7 separate regions of the Homo sapiens genome follow, and all the other regions are linked to region 1. Evidence: promoter capture Hi-C in 16 types of primary human blood cells and fetal thymus (Javierre and others, 2016). All regions are on one chromosome and are shown on one strand. The core of a region is centred on a gene start or on the middle of the fragment in contact, and the rest is flanking DNA. Distances in the headings are between cores, read along the strand shown.

Region 1 (2,558 bases), core at 34-2,533:
TGTGTGTGTCTCAGTGCTGCAAGCGCCTTCAAAACCACAGAGTAATTTACAACTGAAGCTTTCTCCCTGGACTCGAAATCCACTCGGCTGAAAGTCTTTTTGTTTGGAAGCGGCGATGTTAAGGGAAGGTTGGCAGAGAAAATCCCTAGGTCCTACCCCTCGCTGGCTGCGGGCAGGGGTCTTAGAGCTGGGTATATTGTTGCGGCTGAGCCCGCCGGCTCTGCGGGATCTCCTCCCAGCCGAGGCCGACAGTGGCCGCGACAGCCAGCGCCTCCTCGGGCCCCGCGGCAGAGCCCCTTGCCCTTGGCCGGTTCCCCGCCGGCGCAGGGCGCACGCGGAGCCGCCCTTCCGCGCCCTGGGAACAGGTGCACTGGGCTCAGCGCCCAGGAGGGGTGGGGCACAGGGAGGGGGCGCGGCCGGGGAAGGGGGGTCGGCGTGTACCGCGAGGCAGGGGCGGGAGGAGGTCAAAGTCAGGAGCCCACGTACCTGTACCTGGAAGCACAGCAGCAGGAAGTGTAAACACCTGCGGGAAACAGATGGAGAAGCGGTCAGTGGGACCTGAGGAAGGGGGCGCACGGACAGACAGACACGCAGTCGAAGAGTCAGGTGAACCGACGGGCGGGCAGACAGAGGTACAGGGCACAGGCATACGGACAGACAGCCAGGCAAGGTGGGCAGCCCCGCGCGCGGGCGCTTACAGGCAAGTGCAGGCGGAGGGCGCTGAATACATCGCTGGGCGGGAGGGAGGCGGCGGCTCCTAGCCCAGCCTGCACATGTCCGCTCCGCGCGGCCGGGACCGGGCGCCTCCGCCGCCGCCGCCGCCGCCGCCGCCGCTGCTGCTGCTCCCTCCTCGCCGGCTGCTGCTGCTGCAGACTCTGCTGCTCCGGGGCGCTCCGCGGCGCGCCCTGCGGCATCAGCGCCCCGCGCGGCTCCTCCCGAGCGCTGCGCCCTCCGGGCTGGCGCAGGGGCTGCGGGGCGGCAGCCGCTGTGCAGGAGGCGCCTGGCCGGTGCGGGGAAGCTCGCTCACTGCTGGCCGGCCGGCCGTCCGGGCGTCCGTGGGAGGCTGGCTGCCCGGCTCAGTCCGGGGACAGCATGCGCGGCGGGTCTGGAAGCCGAGTTGCGCTCTCCGGCCCGGGCGCGGAGCTGCGTGGGGCCAGGGGTCAGCGCTCCGGGGTCGGGGCGCGCGGCTGCAGCGCGAAAGCGTCACGGCCGCTCCGTCTGGGCGCCCGCCGGCTCATGTCTCCTCCTCCGCGTCTCTCCGGCCGTGCGCATCGCCGCCTCCCACCACTGGCGGCGGCCGGGGCGTTTTCTACGCGCGGGCGGCGAGGGGGCGGGGGGCCGGGGGCGGGCCCGGGCCCGAGCCGGCACAATGAGGATGCGGGGCCTGGGGGCTCCCCCCTCGGGGCGCGGCCGGACGGGCGCTCAGCTCGCCTGGGTGCGCCCAGCCCACATCAAAGGCGGCCCTGCCTGCTCGCCTGCCTGCCGCGGCCTCTCGCTGCCTCCTCCTCCTTCTCCTGGCGGCTCGGGGTTGGAGGGGAGGCGCTCAGACTCTCGGAGACGGGACCGGCAGCTCCAAAGGGGCAGGACCCGCGAGACTGAAGCTGGTGAGCGCTGGAAGCCGTCGGAGCTCTGCGCCCGAGCGCAGTGACCGCTCCTCCGCGCAAACGTTGCCCAAATTGGGCAGGCGATGCTCCCCAAGAACGCAGTTAGGTACGGAACGTCCTCACCTGCCCACATTCGCTACTCGCACTCACTCACCAGCGCTCTAGTGGAGAGCCGAGAGGGGCGGGTCAAACCCAGCCCCGGGGCGGCTCCACTGAATGGGGGTCGCTTTTACCCGCCCTGCGATCGTGGAGTTTCCCAGCCACCCTCTTGACTGGCTACCCACTTAAGTGAGCCCCCGTCCTCTTCTTACGTCCCTGCCGCTGCGAAGGGGGCTCCCGGGCATCTCTCCTTCCCACCCCTCGCCCCCTCCGGGGCTCTGGGGTCGGTTCACGGGATCCCAGCTGGACTCTCCCGTAGGCGAGCCAGCTTTGGAAACACACGGCTACCACCAAGCGGCCCCGAGACGTCACTGCAACCCCAGCACGGACGGCTGCACGCCGGGGAGCAGCCAGCAGGACTCTGGTCAGCGACCACGCTGAGGCCCTCTTCCGGCCTCCTCCCAAAACCGGACTAAGACTTGCCTCCGTTTGCATACTAGGCAGCTTCGTTCCTTTAACCAGGGCCCCATTCAGGACACTGGTTCTTACCGCCTCTGCCCCTTCCAGAGGCATAACTCCTGTCCTTCCCACCAACCCCAAAACGTAGGTGTTCTTGTCACGTACCTGCCTCACTGTCTAGAGCTGGTGTCAGCCAAGCTCTGCTTGAGCCTGATGCTAAGGAAAATAGGTCACAGTGAGAAAGACGCTGGAGGACAGGCTCAAGCAAAACTCAGGAATCTGGACTATTTGGTTAAAGCCTCCTTGCGTTGGCAATGGTTGATGGTCCACTGGAGCATAAACTGAGGTAGGACTGTCGAACAGTGCTATTTGCTGAAGCCATGACTATAAAACATT
Region 2 (2,558 bases), core at 38-2,537, 880 kb before region 1:
AGCCTGAGAGTGTGATGTTCCCCTTCCTGTGTCCATGTGTTCTCATTGTTCAATTCCCATCTATGAGTGAGAACATGCGGTGTTTGGTTTTTTGTCCCTGCGATAGTTTACTGAGAATGATGATTTCCAATTTCATCCATGTCCCTACAAAGGACATGAACTCATCATTTTTTTATGGCTGCATAGTATTCCATGGTGTTTATGTGCCACATTTTCTTAATCCAGTCTATCATTGTTGGACATTTGGGTTGGTTCCAAGTCTTTGCTACTGTGAATAGTGCCACAATAAACATACGTGTGCATGTGTCTTTATAGCAGCATGATTTATAGTCCTTTGGGTATATACCCAGTAATGGGATGGCTGGGTCAAATAGTATTTCTAGTTCTAGATCCCTGAGGAATCACCACACTGACTTCCACAATGGTTGAACTAGTTTACAGTCCCACCAACAGTGTAAAAGTGTTCCTATTTCTCCATATCCTCTCCAGCACCTGTTGTTTCCTGACTTTTTAATGATTGCCATTCTAACTGGTGTGAGATGGTATCTTATTGTGGTTTTGATTTGCATTTCTCTGATGGCCAGTGATGATGAGCATTTTTTCATGTGTCTTTTGGCTGCATAAAAGAGAGTAATTTTTTCCTGAAGTAGAATGGTTAGTTGTTCCAAATGAGAAGAGAAAAAGTATAGGAGCAAAACCTGAATGGATAAGAAGGTTGTAGGTGTGTGGAAGATGAATCTTGTGATATAAATTTTATGTGTGATGTAGGGAATTATTTAGAATGTTTTTCCTAAAAAACTGAGCATTAATAGCAAAACTAGAATTTGGCCTTCTCTGTTAAAACAACAAGGTTTTCTTAGAGTATTGGCCTCTGATCTTAACAGAAAATTGTTAACAATTTTTCTTTACCTTTTAGGTAATTGGCCTAGGGGAAAAAAAGATTCTGTGTCTTACCAAGAAATTTTCCTGTGCTTCAATTTTTTTTTTTTAAGAGACAGGGTCTCACTCTGTTGCCCAGGGTGGAGTACAGTGGCATATCATAGCTCATTGCAGCCTTGAACTCCTGGGCTCAAGCCATCCCCATGCCTCAGCTTCCCAAGTAGTTAGAACTACAGGTGCTCACTGCCACACCTGGCTACTTTTTTATTTTGTAAAGATGGGTCTCACTATGCTCGCCAGGCTTGTCTTGAACTCCTGGCCTCAACTGATCCTCCCACTTCAGCTTCCCAGGCTGTTGAGATTACAGGCATGAGTCACTGCAACCAGCCTTGTGTTGTCTTTATTGGGTTTTCGGTCACTTAAGAAAACTGAGAGATCAGAAAGTTGACTAAATACAGAAAGTTACATGGTTGTCAAAAAAAACCTTAGCTCCAAGCTAAGTGTATAAATGTTTTATACACTTGAGCTGAGGTTTTTTTTTTTTTTTTTACAGCTATGTAACTTTCTGTATTTGCCTTTGAAGCCTTTTAATTGTCACTTTGGTTAAATGAATGACTATTGTTCACAGTGACCTGTGAACCTATTTTGATCAAATGTTTTAAATCTTTGATATGTTTGACAAACTCCCCCAAAATCAAAATCTAAATGAAGTCTTTTTCTTGACCTTGAATTAACTTTGAATTTTTCCAGGTGGGCCTTTGGAATATCTCAGAATGATACCTTTCCTTATAAAAAGAGAGATATCACATGAATTGAGCCTATTAAATATATTAAATTATATGGGAAGCATTGCCAAATGATAAGTAATAGTAAACCTTCTTTGAATTATATTTGTATGGACGTGTTATTAATGTGTGTTTTAGAAATTATATGATATTTATAGAAATCAAATAGTCCTGGTAGAATGTTATCATTCATAATTTTAGTTATTATTTTAAAATGTTGCATGCAAGAGAAATAATCAAATTTTGTTGTGAATTGTATTAACATTGTAATTAACTTTAATCAGATCTTTAACCATTCACAAATGGTTAATCTTTGTAACTCACAAATGATTGTTTACTCTGGTACTTTCCTGAATTAAAGAAATAAGATTGGTGTTTAAGAGGGTATAAATCCAATGTGAAGCCTGGACCCACGAAGAGGCTGGATGGCTGCCTGGTAATTCCTGAGTCCTTAAATCTTCCATCATTAGGCCAGGCATGGTGGCTCACGCCTGTAATTCCAGCACTTTGGGAGGCTGAGACAGGCAGATTGCTGGAGTCCAGGAGCTCAAGACCAGCCTGGGCAACATGGAAAAACCCTATCTCTACAAAAAATACCAAAAAAAAAAAAAAAAAAAATTAGCTGGATCTGGTGGTACATGCCTGTAGTCCTAGCTACTTGGTGCTGAGGTGGGAGGATCACTTGAACCCAGGAGGTTGAAGCTGCAGTGAGCTGAGATCATGCCACTGTACTCCAGCCTGAGTGACAGAGTGAGACCCTATCTCAAAAAGTTTCCTGTTTTTGTTTTTTTTTTTTTGAGACGGAGTTTCACTCTTGTTGCCCAGGCTGGAGTGCAAGGGTGCAATCTCAGCTTGCTGCAACCTCTGCCTCCTGGGTTCAAGAGATTCTCCTGC
Region 3 (2,558 bases), core at 23-2,522, 860 kb before region 1:
GCAGAAATAAGCTTTAGAAAGTCCCAAGCAGGATGATAACAATTTTAAGGCATCATAGCACGAAGCACAATTCTAAAGGGACCATTAACAATTTGGCTGAGATTGGAAAAGTAACCGCCAAGAATGTTGGGCGTGGTCAATGTCCCAAATTCTAGATTCGAAAAGGCAGGGTGTTTCACTCATTTACACTTCACTTTGGCCTAAGGACGATTTAAGATACCCAAAGGCAGGATCTTGATAAGTAGTATTGTTTGAATCATTAATCCCGTGAAAATGAAAGAAACCCACGCCCCCTGAACTAAGGTCAGCGTTTATCTCTTCTTTCCAGGCGTTCCATCAGGACGCCTCGCCTCTAATCTCAGTTTGGTTTGCCACAACCACTGCCTCCACCCCTAATAATGGGGCCCCATGATTTTAGGGAAGACGGGGGTGGGCAGGCAAGAGGAAGCCCAGATTCGGGGTACCAACCCACGGAGCGCCATACAAATTCAAAGGGCGCTGGGACCTCAACGTTCGGCCAGGACACTCTCCCCCGAGCCCCCGTTATTTGGGAAACCGCCCCGTCCCCGCCTGCGAGTCTTCCACGACTACTTCTCGGTTCCCCCGTGCGACCCGCTTCCACCAGCAAGAAGGAGCCGACGGCCGAGGAGCCAGGAACTCGATTTCGCCCCTTCCCACTCCTCTTTTCTCACTTTTGTTCGGCTTTTTCCTGCTTTCCCTCCCTTCTTCCCTCTCCTTTCTTCTTCCCGTCCTCCCTCTCTCCTCCTCCCCTCGCCTCCAGTCCTCCCCCCGCCTGCAGTCCTCCCCCCACCTAGCCCCCTGCGTCCCCTCCCCCGCCTCACCCTCGCCCCGCTCCGCTCGCAGCCCCGCCCGCAGCCAATCAGAGCGCGGCCTCCGGTGGCCCCGCCCTTCTCCGGCGATTCCGGGCGGGCCGGGCCGAGCCCAGGCCGTGGGTGCGGAGGGCGGCGCCGCGGGCCGGGGGCCGATGGGTCCTGGCGGACGCGAGGCGCCGGCGCGGGGCTCGCCTGGACTCGGGTGTGCGGGGCTGTGAGGGGGCGAGGCGGGCGCTGCGGCCCGCCCGGGATGGGCCAGCCCTGGCCTGGCGGGGCTGAGCCGAAGGCGAGGGCGGCGCGCGGGCCAGGCCTGCCGGGCGGGCGGCCCGGGGGTTGAGGTAGAAGTGGGCGCGGAGGAAGGGGCCGAGCCAAGGCGGTGGGTGGAGCGGCGAGGGGGGCGGAGGCTGGGCCGCGGCGGGCGAGCGGAGCGGCGCGCCTGTCCGGAGCTCGGCGGTGGCGCCGGAGGAGGCTGCAGCGGCGGCGGCGGCGGGCCCGGACGAGCGTCCGGAGGTGGCGGACGAGGCGCCGGGGGCCCCCATGGGCGGGTGTGTGGGCGCCCAGCACGACTCCTCGGGCAGCCTCAACGAGAACTCGGAGGGCACCGGAGGTAGGTGAGCGCCAGGGGGCAGCCTCGGCCCCCCATTGTTCCCGGCCAGGCCCGGCCACCTGTCCCGACCCCCGCGGGCCGCGCCGGGCCCCCGCGCCCCTTTGTCATCCCCTCTTCCACGTCATTCCCCGCGCTCCGCTTCCGGCTGTCCTGCCAGCCGCGGGGGTCGCCCCTTCCCGCCCCAGCCCTGAAGAAAAGTCCTCTGAGCGCCGGGGACGTAGCCCTTGGCCTCGCCGACCGCCCCGCTCGGCTCGGGGAAGTCGGACCCGAAGCTGCCCTTCTGGCCACCTCACTCCCTCTCCAGGCCGTTTAATTATTGAGGATCAGGATGGCGGCGCCGGGGTTGCAGAAAAGCGAATTGATGGCGGGGGGAGGGAGCTTGATGCGTTCCCTCCGACGGGCCCCGCCACATCTTTCCGCACCCTTCCTTGTTCTGTGGAGTTGGCTGGTCTCAGCTTTCCTGAGTTTCAGATGACAGCTGCCCCGGTTGGTTCCAGATTGGCCATTTAAACCTGCGAGTTTCTGGAGCTCGGCTGGAGGAGTCTCCAGTGGCCGCAGGCATTGTATTAAGGAGGGGTGGGGAAACGGTCTTCCCGGGTAAAACGTGGCTCCTAGCTAGAGCTTGGGGGTGTTAGGCCGGTGTGCTGTCGGGGTGGGCTAATCACATTCCCATCTGTCTTACGTAGAAGGAAAATATGTAGGATAAAAGTACAAGTGCAGTTGGACCCTGACTTACCCCACCCAGTAAGATCAGTACTTTAAAAGTTTTCTAACACGGGAACGCACTCCTACTTTATAGTAAAAGCGTGCTGAGGATAGGTATTTTAATTCAATCAGTAGTAGTTGTAGTATGGCAGTATAATAATAAAATTAGTTCTATCTTTATTTAAGTGACCTTTGGTTACGTCCATTCTGTAGAATATTTTAGTGATAAACAGCCTTTAGGCAAAGATGACAGCGTTGGTTTGATTTGTGACCTAATGTTAGCTGCCTTAAAATGTGCATGTCTGTAAATTTTTAAATTGTTTGGGTATGGGAGGGTTTACAACTTTTTCGTAGCATACTAACATTTAGACCAGTTGCTTGCCCTGTCACTTAAGCTCTCTTCACAAACCATG
Region 4 (2,558 bases), core at 16-2,515, 770 kb before region 1:
GAGAAAGAAGGTGTTCTTTTTTAATTGTTTTTAAAAATTGAATGAACTCCTTAAAATCATGACGGAGGAACCCCTTACTCACGGATGACATTTCTCTCTCTGAGGTCAGAACGAGTGAATGGATAGGATACCTTATTTCTACTCAGTCCTAAAAATAACCTCAAGTGTTTAATTGGACTTCTATTAGTTTGTGAACTCAACAAGCATGGCTGAGATCTGCAGCTTTTATATTTATTTATTTATTTATTTATTTTTATTTATTTATTTATTTATTTATTTATTTTTGGTCATTCACAAGTACCAATAAGTAGAAGGGATCCTGCAGCTCATCAGATTCAAACTTCCCACATGACAGATAAATCTTGCTGAGGGGTCTCCAGAGTTAATGCCTGAGTGGGGCTCAGCTCCCAAGAATAATAATTACAATAATAACAAACACTTATTAAGTCCTTACGATGTGTCAGACACTGTGCTAAGCATTTGCCATACTCTCATTATCTTTTTTTTTTCCAACTATGAGATGGACTCCATTATGAGAAGCCTCACCTCTAGATGAGGAAAATGAGACTTAGAGAGGGCGATGACGTGTTATCCACATCACCAAGGAATAATGGGTGTGGAGCCAGGATTCCACCAGAGTCTGCAATTTTCTCCTCCCGGCTGAACTGTCCCCCGTGTCAATTCTGAGTTGGCAACTTCTCTCTGTGCTTCAACTAGAAGATAAAATATTTACTAACAGGCCGGGTGTGGTAGCTCACACTTGTAATCCCAGTACTTAGGGAGGCGGAGGCGGGTGGATCACCTGATGTCAGGAGTTTGAGACCAGCCTGGCCAACATGGTCTGGTCATCTCTACCGAAAATACAAAAAATTAGCCAGGCGTGGTGGCAGACACCTGTAATCCCAGCTACTCAGGAGGCTGAGGCAGGAGAATTGCTTGAACCCTGGAGGCGGAGATTGCAGTGAGCTGAGATCGCGCCATCGTACTCCAGCCTGGGCAATAGAGCGAGATTCCGTCTCAAAAAAAAAAAAATGTACTAACAAAATAGTTTCTGGCTCTGCAAGTTTTCTTACACATTAGCTAAAACCCAGGTAAGGACCCAGAGGAGACATGTCTGAAAGTACTGACCATTCAAGGTGTTCTTGCCGTGCACGTCCAGAATATGAAAATATTCTGCCAAAGCCTTCACGTTTCTCACGGATAATAAGCAGTATATTTTGTCCAGATAGAGGTACCACAGAAACGATCCTTGCTTCAGTCTCATCTTAGTACTGTGTCAACTGAAGGCTCTGGCAACCAGAAATAGAATACAGAACCCTGCCTCAGAAGTAGAATGTTGGATATAGTGTCTGAGATCTGGCAGCAGTGAAGGTAAACACGTCAGAGGAAACAGTCAAAAATTAAAATTGCTGCTTCTTAATTTTTCCAGCTATGCTATAGATAGATATCTGCTGTCCGAAACCTCTTGGTAACGTGATTATCCTTATGTCACTAAAATACAATCAGTTCTAAAGGAGATCCACAGGCTGTTCAGAAATGAATGAGAGAATGTGCTACATAGGAAAACTGCTACACAGCCCAAGTGGTTTTCAGAGCATTTATAGCCTAAATCATTTATTAGAAAGAAGAAAAATTGAAAAACACATGGAAAAGTACTAAAAGAGCCTAGAATAACTACAGTATAATAATGCCAAAGAGAGGAAGTTTTTCTTTTTTCTTTTCTTTTTTTTAATTGAGACAAGAGTCTTGCCTTGTCACCCAGGCTGGAGTGCAGTGGCGCGAGCTCTGCTCACTGCAAGCTCCGCCTCCCGGGTTCACGCCATTCTCCTGCCTCAGCCTCCTGAGTATCTGGGACTACAGGCGACAGGCGCCCACCAACACGCCCGGCTAATTTTGTGTATTTTTAGTAAAGACGGGGTTTCACCACGTTAGCCAGGATGGTCTTCATCTCCTGACCTTGTGATCCGCCCGTCTTGGCCTCCCAAAGTGCTGGGATTACAGGTCTGAACCATTGAGCCCTGCCTCTTTTTTTTCTTTTTTTGAGACAGAGTTTCACTCTTATCATCCAGGCTGGACTATAATGGCACAGTCTTGACTCACGGCAACCTCTGTCTTCTGGATTCAAGCGAATCTCCTGCCTCAGCCTCCCGAGTATCTGGAATTACAGGCATGCACCCCCACGCCCAGCTAAATTTTTGTTTTTATTTTTTATTTTTTATTTTATTTTATTTTTATTATTATTATTTTTTGAGATGGAGTCTCGCTCTGTCTCCCAGGCTGGAGTGCAGTGGCGCGATCTCGGCTCACTGCAAGCTCCACCTCCCAGGTTCACACCATTCTCCTGCCTCAGCCTCCCCAGCAGCTGGGACTACAGGCACACTCCGCCACTCCCGGCTAATTTTTGTATTTTTAGTAGACACGGGTTTCACCGTGTTAGCCAAGATGGTCTTCATCTCCTGACCTTGTGATCCGCCTGCCTCGGCCTCCCAAAGTGCTGAGATTACAGGCGTGAGCCACTGCACCCAGCCCAATTTTTGTATTTTTAGTAGAGATGAGGT
Region 5 (2,558 bases), core at 28-2,527, 660 kb before region 1:
GCTCACTGCAACCTCCGCCTCCCGGATTCAAGCGATTCTCTTGCCTCAGCCTCTTAAGTAGCTGGGATTACAGGCATGCACCACCACACCCAGCTAATTTTGTATTTTTAGTAGAGATGGGGTTCTCCATGTTGGTCAGGCTGGTCTTGAACCCCCGACCTCAGGTGATCCACCCTCCTCGGCCTCCCAAAGTGCTGGGATTACAGGTATGAGCCACTGTGCCCAGCTGAATTATTATTTTTAATATGTTTCCTTATGTAATTAAACATTTTCTAAAACTTGATTTTTTTAAGGTTGTATAGAATTCCATCATATCAATATACTTTATTTACATAGACCTATATTGATGGACATTTGCTTCCAATTTTTTACTAAATAACATTCATTTTAAATGACTGATTATTCTTTTTTTTTTTTTTTTTCTTTTTTTTGTGTTGTTGAGACGGAGTTTCGCTCTTGTAGTCCAGGCTGGAGTGCAATGGCGTCATCTCGGCCCACTGGAACCTCCACCTCCCAGGTTCAAGCGATTCTCCTGCCTCAGCCTCCTGAGTAGCTGGGAGTACAGGCGTGTGCCACCATGTCCAGCTAATTTTTGTATTTTTAGTAGAGATGGGGTTTTGCCATGTTGGCCAGGCTGGTCTCAAACTCCTGACCTCAGGTGATTCTTCTGCTTTGGCCTCCCAAAGTGCTGGAATTACAGGTGTGAGCCACCACACCCAGCTGAATATTCTTATTCAGTGGTTTTGTGCATCTATAAATATTTCTTTAAAATCAGTATCCAGAAGTGGAAACTACTATGTCAAAAAACATAAGCTTATTACCAAATTGTCCTCCAGAAATGTACCAGTTTCTACCATCAAATTTTCTACATCATGAAAATGTAGTTTCTACATCAAATTTTCTGCATTATGTTTTCTACATCAAGAAATTATAGTTTCTTTTTCATTTGTATTTTATATCTATATAGGTGATTCTAAAATTTCTTTTTATCTTTTGCTTCATGTCTGTTCATGTTCTTTGCCACTTTTTTTGGTTAGGATAATCTTCCTTTTTATTGATTTGTAAGCACTCTTTATTTATTAAGATTATTAAGGTTTTGTCTGTCAATAAATATCAAATGAAGCCTGAGTTCTAGTCATGCCTGTGCCCCAGACTTGTGTGATTTTGCTCCATGATCCAACCTTCAGTGTTCCAAGTTGCAAATATTGTGATCTCTGAAGCCAGTTTCTTACTGTGAAATATCTGTATCCTTTAACCTTTCAGGCGCCAGGAACTCCGAGAGCTTCGGCTGCTCCAGAAAGAAGAGCATCGGAACCAGACCCAGCTGAGTAACAAGCATGAGCTGCAGCTGGAGCAAATGCATAAACGTTTTGAACAGGAAATCAACGTGAGTGCGAGAAAAGATGGGACCCTGCAGGGCTTCTTGCCTCCAGGTGTTCTCTCAGTGGAAGCTACATAGTGGGAATGATTGGGTAGTGGAGAGTAATTCACAACAATTGCCCAATTCCTGGGGGCTTCCCGATCTTGTTAGGCAGTGACTTGTTAACACAGAACCCCGTGAAGGTCACAGCGATCCTGAGTCCCACAGGAGGATCTCCAGAGGGGAAATAACCTGTATTGAGCACCGTGCAACAACACATGGTCTGGTCTCCCTTTTGCAGATGAGGAAATGGAGACTCAGGCTAAGTAACTTGCCCCAGGTCACACAGCAACGGGGTAGTAGAGCTGGGATTCAAGCTTAGGTCTGATCACAAGCTCTGAGTTCTCCCCATTCCACTTCCCATGTCCCTCCCAGGTATAAAGTGACTTCGCTAAGTTTCTCAGAATTTCTGCTCCTTTCAGGCCAAGAAGAAGTTCTTTGACACGGAATTAGAGAACCTGGAGCGTCAGCAAAAGCAGCAAGTGGAGAAGATGGAGCAAGACCATGCCGTGCGCCGCCGGGAGGAGGCCAGGCGGATCCGCCTGGAGCAGGATCGGGACTACACCAGGTTCCAAGAGCAGCTCAAACTGATGAAGAAAGAGGTGAGTATGTGCTCAGTGGGGGCAGGGGCATCTCGGAGTATTAGGGGCCTTCTTGGTTGCAAGTGATCGTGGCCTCAACCTCACCTTGGCAGCAGAGGGGTACGGCTGAAGAGCTCGGGAGCAGGTGAGCCTGGATCTGTGTGCCCAAGCTGCGCCATGAGGAGCCACTTCTCCATCTTCTGAACTCTGCTTTCCTCTGTGTTGCTATGGCTCAGGGCAGGCCTCACCCTGTGGCCTCAGGCAGCTTCCTTTACATCCTCCCAGCTTAGCAACCCCTGCCGAGAAAGAGCGGGGAAGAAGGAAGGGCTGGTGGTCCGGGGGAATTTGAGATGCTGTTCCCAGAAGGGCGAGTGGGTGCTGGGTGGGTAGGCACATACAACATGCCCTCTATGCTCCACCCTCTCTGCCTCCTCCTCCTCCCCATGTTGGAAGGGGAAGGGGAGGATGGAAGGAGGTATGTGGTCCTGAGGCACATCTCTCGAGCTGCTCTGGAGAGAGGCATCTGAGTGTCAAAGAACAGCCCATGCCTCCCTCTG
Region 6 (2,558 bases), core at 29-2,528, 610 kb before region 1:
TTCAGAGGGTTCAAGTTCCAGTCCTTGGTGGCTTACATGTGGTGTTGGCCCATGGGTGCATAGAAGTCAGGAATTGAGGTTTGGAAACCTCTGCCTAGATTTCAAAGGATTTATGGAAATGCCTGGATGTCCAGGCAGAAGTTTACTACAGGGGTAGAGCCCTCATGGAGAACCTCTGCTGGGGCATTGCAGAAGGGAAATGTGGAGTCAGAGTCCCCAAACAGAATCTCCACTGGGGCACTGCTAGTGGAGCTGTGAGAAGAGGGCCACCGTCCTCCAGACCCCAGAATGGTAGATCCACTGACAGCTTGCACCATGTGCCTGGAAAAGCTGCAGACACTCAATGCCAGCTCATGAAAGCAGCCAGGAGGGGGGCTGTACCCTGCAAAGCCACAGGGGCAGAGCTGCCCAAGGCTGTGGGAGCCCACCTCTTGCATCAGCATGACTTGGATGTGAGACATGGAGTTAAAGGAGATGATCTTGGAACTTTAAGATTTAATGACTGCCCAATTGGATTTTAGACTCGTATGGGGCCTGTAGCCCCTTTGTTTTGGCCAATTTCTCCCATTTGGAATGGATGTATTTACCCAATGCCTATATCCCCTGTACCAACTTTCTTTCCATTTTATAGGCTCATAGGTGGAAGGGCTTGACTTGTCTCAGATGAGACTTTGGACTTGGACTTTTCAGTTAATGCTGGAATGAGATAAGATTTTGGAGGACTGTTGAAAAGGCATGACTGTGTTTGGAAATGTGAGGACGTGAGATTTGGGAGGGACCGGGGTGGAATGATATGGTTTGGCTGTGTCTCCACCCAAATCTCATCTTGAATTGTGGTTCCCATAATCCCCACGTGTTGTGGGAGGGACCTGGTGGGAGGTAATTGAATCATGGGGGTGATTACTCTCATGCTGTTCTCATGATAGTGAGTTCTCATGAGATCCAGTGGTTTTATAAGGGGCTTTGCTCCCTTTGCTTGGCACTTCTACTTCCTGCTGCCATGTGAAGGAGGATGTGTTTGCTTCCACTTCTGCCATGATTGTAAGTTTCTTAAGGCTTCCCCAGCCCTGCAGAACTGTGAGTCAATTAAACCTCTTTCCTTTAGAACTTACCCAGTCTTGGGCAGTTCTTTAGAGCAGTGTGAGAATGGACTCATTCTCACACTTGGTACCCAAATGTATAATCAGGTTGTATATACCTAGCATCTAGGAGAACTTTGCATTAGTTCCATAACCCTATGGAATAAAGACTATTGTAGTAAGAAAGGCCAAGTGAAAGCCCCTGAATTACTCTTCCCTACCCCACTCCATTATCCATAAATCTGGCTAAGATAGTAAATCACAAACAACACTGTCTCTTGGGTAGAATGGTATGCTAAACCTAAAAGACTGAAAGGAAGCGAGGGTGGTAGTACTCATTATATTCCATTTTAATCTCCCACTCTAGACCCTGCAAAATCAGCTAGATCATGGCAGATGACAGTAAACTACATTGCAAACTTAACTAAGTGGTAGCCACACTGTAATTGCTGTGCTGGGTATGCTATCTATACAGGTTGGTTATTGCTTATCCAAAATGCCAGGGAATAGAAGTGTTTTGTAGTTTTTATTATTTGGGGTTTTGGAATATTTGCATTATGCTTACCATTTGAGCATCACAAATCCAAAAATCCAAAATCTGAATTGCACCAATGAGCATTCCCTTTGAGTGTTATAGCAGTGCAGTTTCAGATTTTGGAGTGTTTTGAATTTTATATTTTTCAATTTGTAATGTTCAACCTGTACTAGAATGAAGCAAATAACCTCTCTTACACATTATGTGTCTATTGATCTAATAAATGTGCACCTTACAATATCCACCAGAAAGGAAGGTCAGAAACAGTTTGCATTTACCTGGGATGGACAACAGTATACATTTACATCTTGCTTCAGGACTGTCCTGTTAACTCTCCTGTTCTCTGTCAAAATATAGTTCAAATAAGACTTGATTTCCTGGACCCTCAATGTAACATTACATTGGTTCACTATATTGATACATTACATTAACTGGACCTGCTGCACAAGAGGTGGCAATTACTGCAGATGTCCCAATAAGATTATGTGCTCCAGAGGTAGGGAGATAAAAACCTTGCTATATCAGTGTAGGTTTTTTAAATTTTGTTTTGTTCTGTTTTTTTTTTTTTTTTTTTTTTTTTTTTTTTTTTTTTTGAGACAGAGTCTTGCTGTGTCACTGAGGCTGGAGTGCAATGGAGCAGTCTTGGCTCACTACAACCTCTGCCTCTCAGGCTCAAGTGATCCTCCCATCTTGGCCTCCTGAGTAGCTGGGATTACAGGCATGCACCACACACCTGGCTAATTTTTGTATTTTTAGTAGAGACAGGGTTTTGCGATGTTGGCCAGGCTGGTCTTGAACTCCTGGCCTCAAGTGATCCACCCGCCTCAGCCTCTCAAAATGTGGGAACCACCATGCCCAGCTGACCAGTGTAGTTTTGAAGTGCCTAACAGTTGGGTGTGGTTGCTCACGCCAGCACTTTGGGAGGCTGAGGTAGGAGGATCGCT
Region 7 (2,558 bases), core at 26-2,525, 580 kb before region 1:
ATTTGTGATTGTGCTGCTTGTACCAGTTTGGCACTTAATGCTTAACAAGATAACTTTCATTTGCTGTTCCAAAGTGTGCTGTATTAAAAAGAGGAAACAGACTTCTTGGTTATCTCCATTTTCTAATCTTCATCCCTGTACTTTCCTTAATATTGATTCTTCTGTTTTTCCTTGCATTTTTGATAAGTATATTAGGAAATAAAGCTGGTGATAGCAGAATAGTTAAATTTCTAAAATATAACCCCCACTTTGACTCCTACCGCTGCCTGAGGCCTGGGTCCACCCAGGTTGCTTCTCCTCCTGACCCACTCTATAGGATTCAGCTTTGAATATTAGTAAAGTCTATAAGCTCTTAATTTAGACCCTGAATTTACAGTTACTAATGGTAAATAATTTAACCGCCAGATGACTTTTAGGGCCTTATATTGGCCCAGGGCTATACCTGTTAGTGGGCCTATTTTTCCAAACTTCTGAGTTTGGTAAAATTCGCCTTATGAATGAGGCAGAAAACTAGTAATTCATTTTGGAAATATGTAAAGTTTATCCGGCTATGTTCAATGGACTTCATTGGGAAGAATGAGAACTGTACAATATGTATCACGTGGTATTTATTAACCTTTGAGTTAGGAATATGACTTGATTTTCAGGCACTCATCACTAGAAAGCACTCACAAGAGCTTCTGATTGGAAGAGAAAGATGATTAGATTACCCTGTAAGAAGCCAGCAGAAATTGATGCTATCACTTTAGGAAAGGCGATCCTGCCTCCTCCACGGGTGTGAGTGAATCCCCTCTTCCCTTTACACAATTAATGGATGGTTTATAATTAATTGTTAAATGACTTCCCTTTTTGCTAAGTGACCTTAAGTGAGTCATTTCCCTTCTGTCTTATCTCTTAAGTGGCTGTATTACTTGTTCAATGAAGTAATGTAGGTTAAAATACACTGATCCTTATTAAGAAGGTGTGGGCAGGTGCGGTGGCTCTAGCCTGTAATCCCAGCACTTTAGGAGGTGGGAGGATTGCTTGAGCCCAGGAGTTAGAGACCAGCCTAGGCAACATAACAAAACCCTGTCTCTACAAAAAATAAAAAAATTAGCCAGGCATAGTGGTTCACTCCTATAGTCCCTGCTACTCAGGAGCCTGAGGTGGGGAGGATTGCTTGAGCCCAGGAGTTTGAGGTTGCAGTGACCTGTGATTGTGCCACTGCACTCCAGCCTGGGTAACAGAGCAAGACACTCTCAAAAAAAAAAAAAAAAAAAAAGAAAAGAAAAAAGAAAGAAACGAATAAATGAAGTTACTGGAAATGTTGTCTTTTTTTCTTTTTGGATCTTTTTTTTTTCTTCCTGTCATTGACTTTCTCGGGGTGAGTGGGGTTGTTTAGTGACTTCATCAAGAAATTGGATATTACTTTGTCACCACCTTTCTCCTCATGTAGCACACCACTAGGGGTGCTAACTTACTGAATGCAGACTCAGTGGACACAGGTTTCAATAGGGTCCAAATGAATAAACCACACACACACACACACACACACACACACACATTTATATAAAATATATGGACCTCACTGACCTGCCTAAAGAGGCATTGGCTCAAATATATCAATTTTTGCCCCTGATTTTGCAGTAGGTTAGATATCCTTTCAGATTTGACATGGATAAACATGTTCCTGCACACAAGTCTTGGCATTCTGGGCTCTTGACTGCTATAGTCTGTCTCCTGCAAATAGGGAGCTAGCCCAGGAGAATCACTCAGCCATTACATAGATTCACAACAGCACATATATGCCTCTTACTAGTGTTGTTTGAGCCTGTGAATTCTAGAAACAAAATTATCTGCCCTGTAAGATCTGTGGGATCCTGGGTTCTACCTTGTGATATTTGTTCTTCATAGAAAACAAAGCATTTTAAGTCCTAGTGATTCCAATTCCAGTCTTCCTTTGTATTCCATTCTCCCTTATGGCTTTTCTGCCTACTTTCCTTGCTTACTGTATATTCTAGCACATGGAGGACCATGGTCCTCCAGATTCTGCTCACACGTTTCCTTTGTCAGCACTGATAGGAATGGACCTAAGCCCATTTATTGAAGGCTACTGATATTTATCAAAAGGATCTAATAGGTGGTTCTCTGGCCAAATTGGCTTAGGTTATATCTCAGCAATCTTCTCTTTCATTTATGCTAATGAAGTCCTATCCACCCATAAAACACAATAGGTGCCACCTCTTTTGATGTCAGTTTATATTATGGTAGCAGAGACTGTCTGGTTTTTGTGTCTGTATAGCACTGCCTATATGACACTCAAATGAAATGAATGAATTCTGGCACTTTGTATTTATCCTGTAGCACTTAACATATTTCAGGCTTGTAATATAGTTACCTGTTTGTGTCCTCTGTTGAATGATAAACTCCTCATGGGAAGGGCTGGGACCTTAATTATCTTCCAGTGACACACAGTTCCTTCATACACACGGTGTCTTCTTTGTGGTAGGCTTTCAGGAAATGTTGGGTTGAATTTTCCTGGTGATCATTTTCAGACATTATTGCCTTTTGCCTGTGTC

The links. The method cuts DNA at HindIII sites, captures the fragments that hold promoters and counts their contacts. A CHiCAGO score of 5 or more calls a contact.
Region 2: a fragment that was not itself captured here is called in contact with the fragment with the promoter of FGF18 in region 1 in 8 of 17 cell types (naive CD8 T cells, total CD8 T cells, M2 macrophages and 5 more); the score reaches 8.3 in naive CD8 T cells.
Region 3: the fragment with the promoter of UBTD2 here is called in contact with the fragment with the promoter of FGF18 in region 1 in 13 of 17 cell types (total CD8 T cells, total B cells, naive CD4 T cells and 10 more); the score reaches 11.2 in total CD8 T cells.
Region 4: the fragment with the promoter of EFCAB9 here is called in contact with the fragment with the promoter of FGF18 in region 1 in 14 of 17 cell types (M1 macrophages, erythroblasts, M2 macrophages and 11 more); the score reaches 11.0 in M1 macrophages.
Region 5: a contact is called between a fragment that was not itself captured here and the fragment with the promoter of FGF18 in region 1, in 3 of 17 cell types (M0 macrophages, M2 macrophages and M1 macrophages). The highest score is 6.6, in M0 macrophages.
Region 6: a contact is called between a fragment that was not itself captured here and the fragment with the promoter of FGF18 in region 1, in 6 of 17 cell types (M0 macrophages, M2 macrophages, endothelial precursors and 3 more). The highest score is 9.9, in M0 macrophages.
Region 7: a contact is called between a fragment that was not itself captured here and the fragment with the promoter of FGF18 in region 1, in 1 of 17 cell types (megakaryocytes). The highest score is 5.5, in megakaryocytes.

The regions. Positions count from the first base shown.
Region 1 is chr5:171,418,372-171,420,929 of GRCh38, reverse strand. FGF18 (fibroblast growth factor 18) reads right to left here and starts at 1,283. Exons shown (of 5, transcript NM_003862.3): 1 at 699-1,283; 2 at 487-523. The coding sequence starts at 730. RefSeq lists silencers at 777-856, 917-966, 1,107-1,216, 1,337-1,446. The HindIII fragment of the contact is 2,658 bases long and covers 61-2,558 here.
Region 2 is chr5:172,298,921-172,301,478 of GRCh38, reverse strand. No RefSeq gene overlaps it. Among named protein-coding and RNA genes, the nearest start is that of UBTD2, 16 kb to the right of the region's middle. The HindIII fragment of the contact is 3,437 bases long and covers 1-2,558 here.
Region 3 is chr5:172,282,478-172,285,035 of GRCh38, reverse strand. UBTD2 (ubiquitin domain containing 2) reads left to right here and starts at 1,272. Exons shown (of 3, transcript NM_152277.3): 1 at 1,272-1,440. The coding sequence starts at 1,371. RefSeq lists enhancers at 1-594, 595-1,195 and a silencer at 770-1,679. The HindIII fragment of the contact is 4,236 bases long and covers 14-2,558 here.
Region 4 is chr5:172,192,879-172,195,436 of GRCh38, reverse strand. EFCAB9 (EF-hand calcium binding domain 9) reads right to left here and starts at 1,265. Exons shown (of 4, transcript NM_001171183.2): 1 at 1,129-1,265. The coding sequence starts at 1,264. The HindIII fragment of the contact is 7,932 bases long and covers 1-2,558 here.
Region 5 is chr5:172,081,790-172,084,347 of GRCh38, reverse strand. STK10 (serine/threonine kinase 10) reads left to right here. Exons shown (of 19, transcript NM_005990.4): 11 at 1,264-1,387; 12 at 1,843-2,022. Among named protein-coding and RNA genes, the nearest start is that of FBXW11, 76 kb to the right of the region's middle. The HindIII fragment of the contact is 924 bases long and covers 816-1,739 here.
Region 6 is chr5:172,029,402-172,031,959 of GRCh38, reverse strand. No RefSeq gene overlaps it. Among named protein-coding and RNA genes, the nearest start is that of FBXW11, 24 kb to the right of the region's middle. The HindIII fragment of the contact is 3,212 bases long and covers 1-2,558 here.
Region 7 is chr5:172,001,400-172,003,957 of GRCh38, reverse strand. All of the region lies in intron 1 of FBXW11 (F-box and WD repeat domain containing 11), which reads left to right. Among named protein-coding and RNA genes, the nearest start is that of FBXW11, 4.0 kb to the left of the region's middle. The HindIII fragment of the contact is 5,721 bases long and covers 1-2,558 here.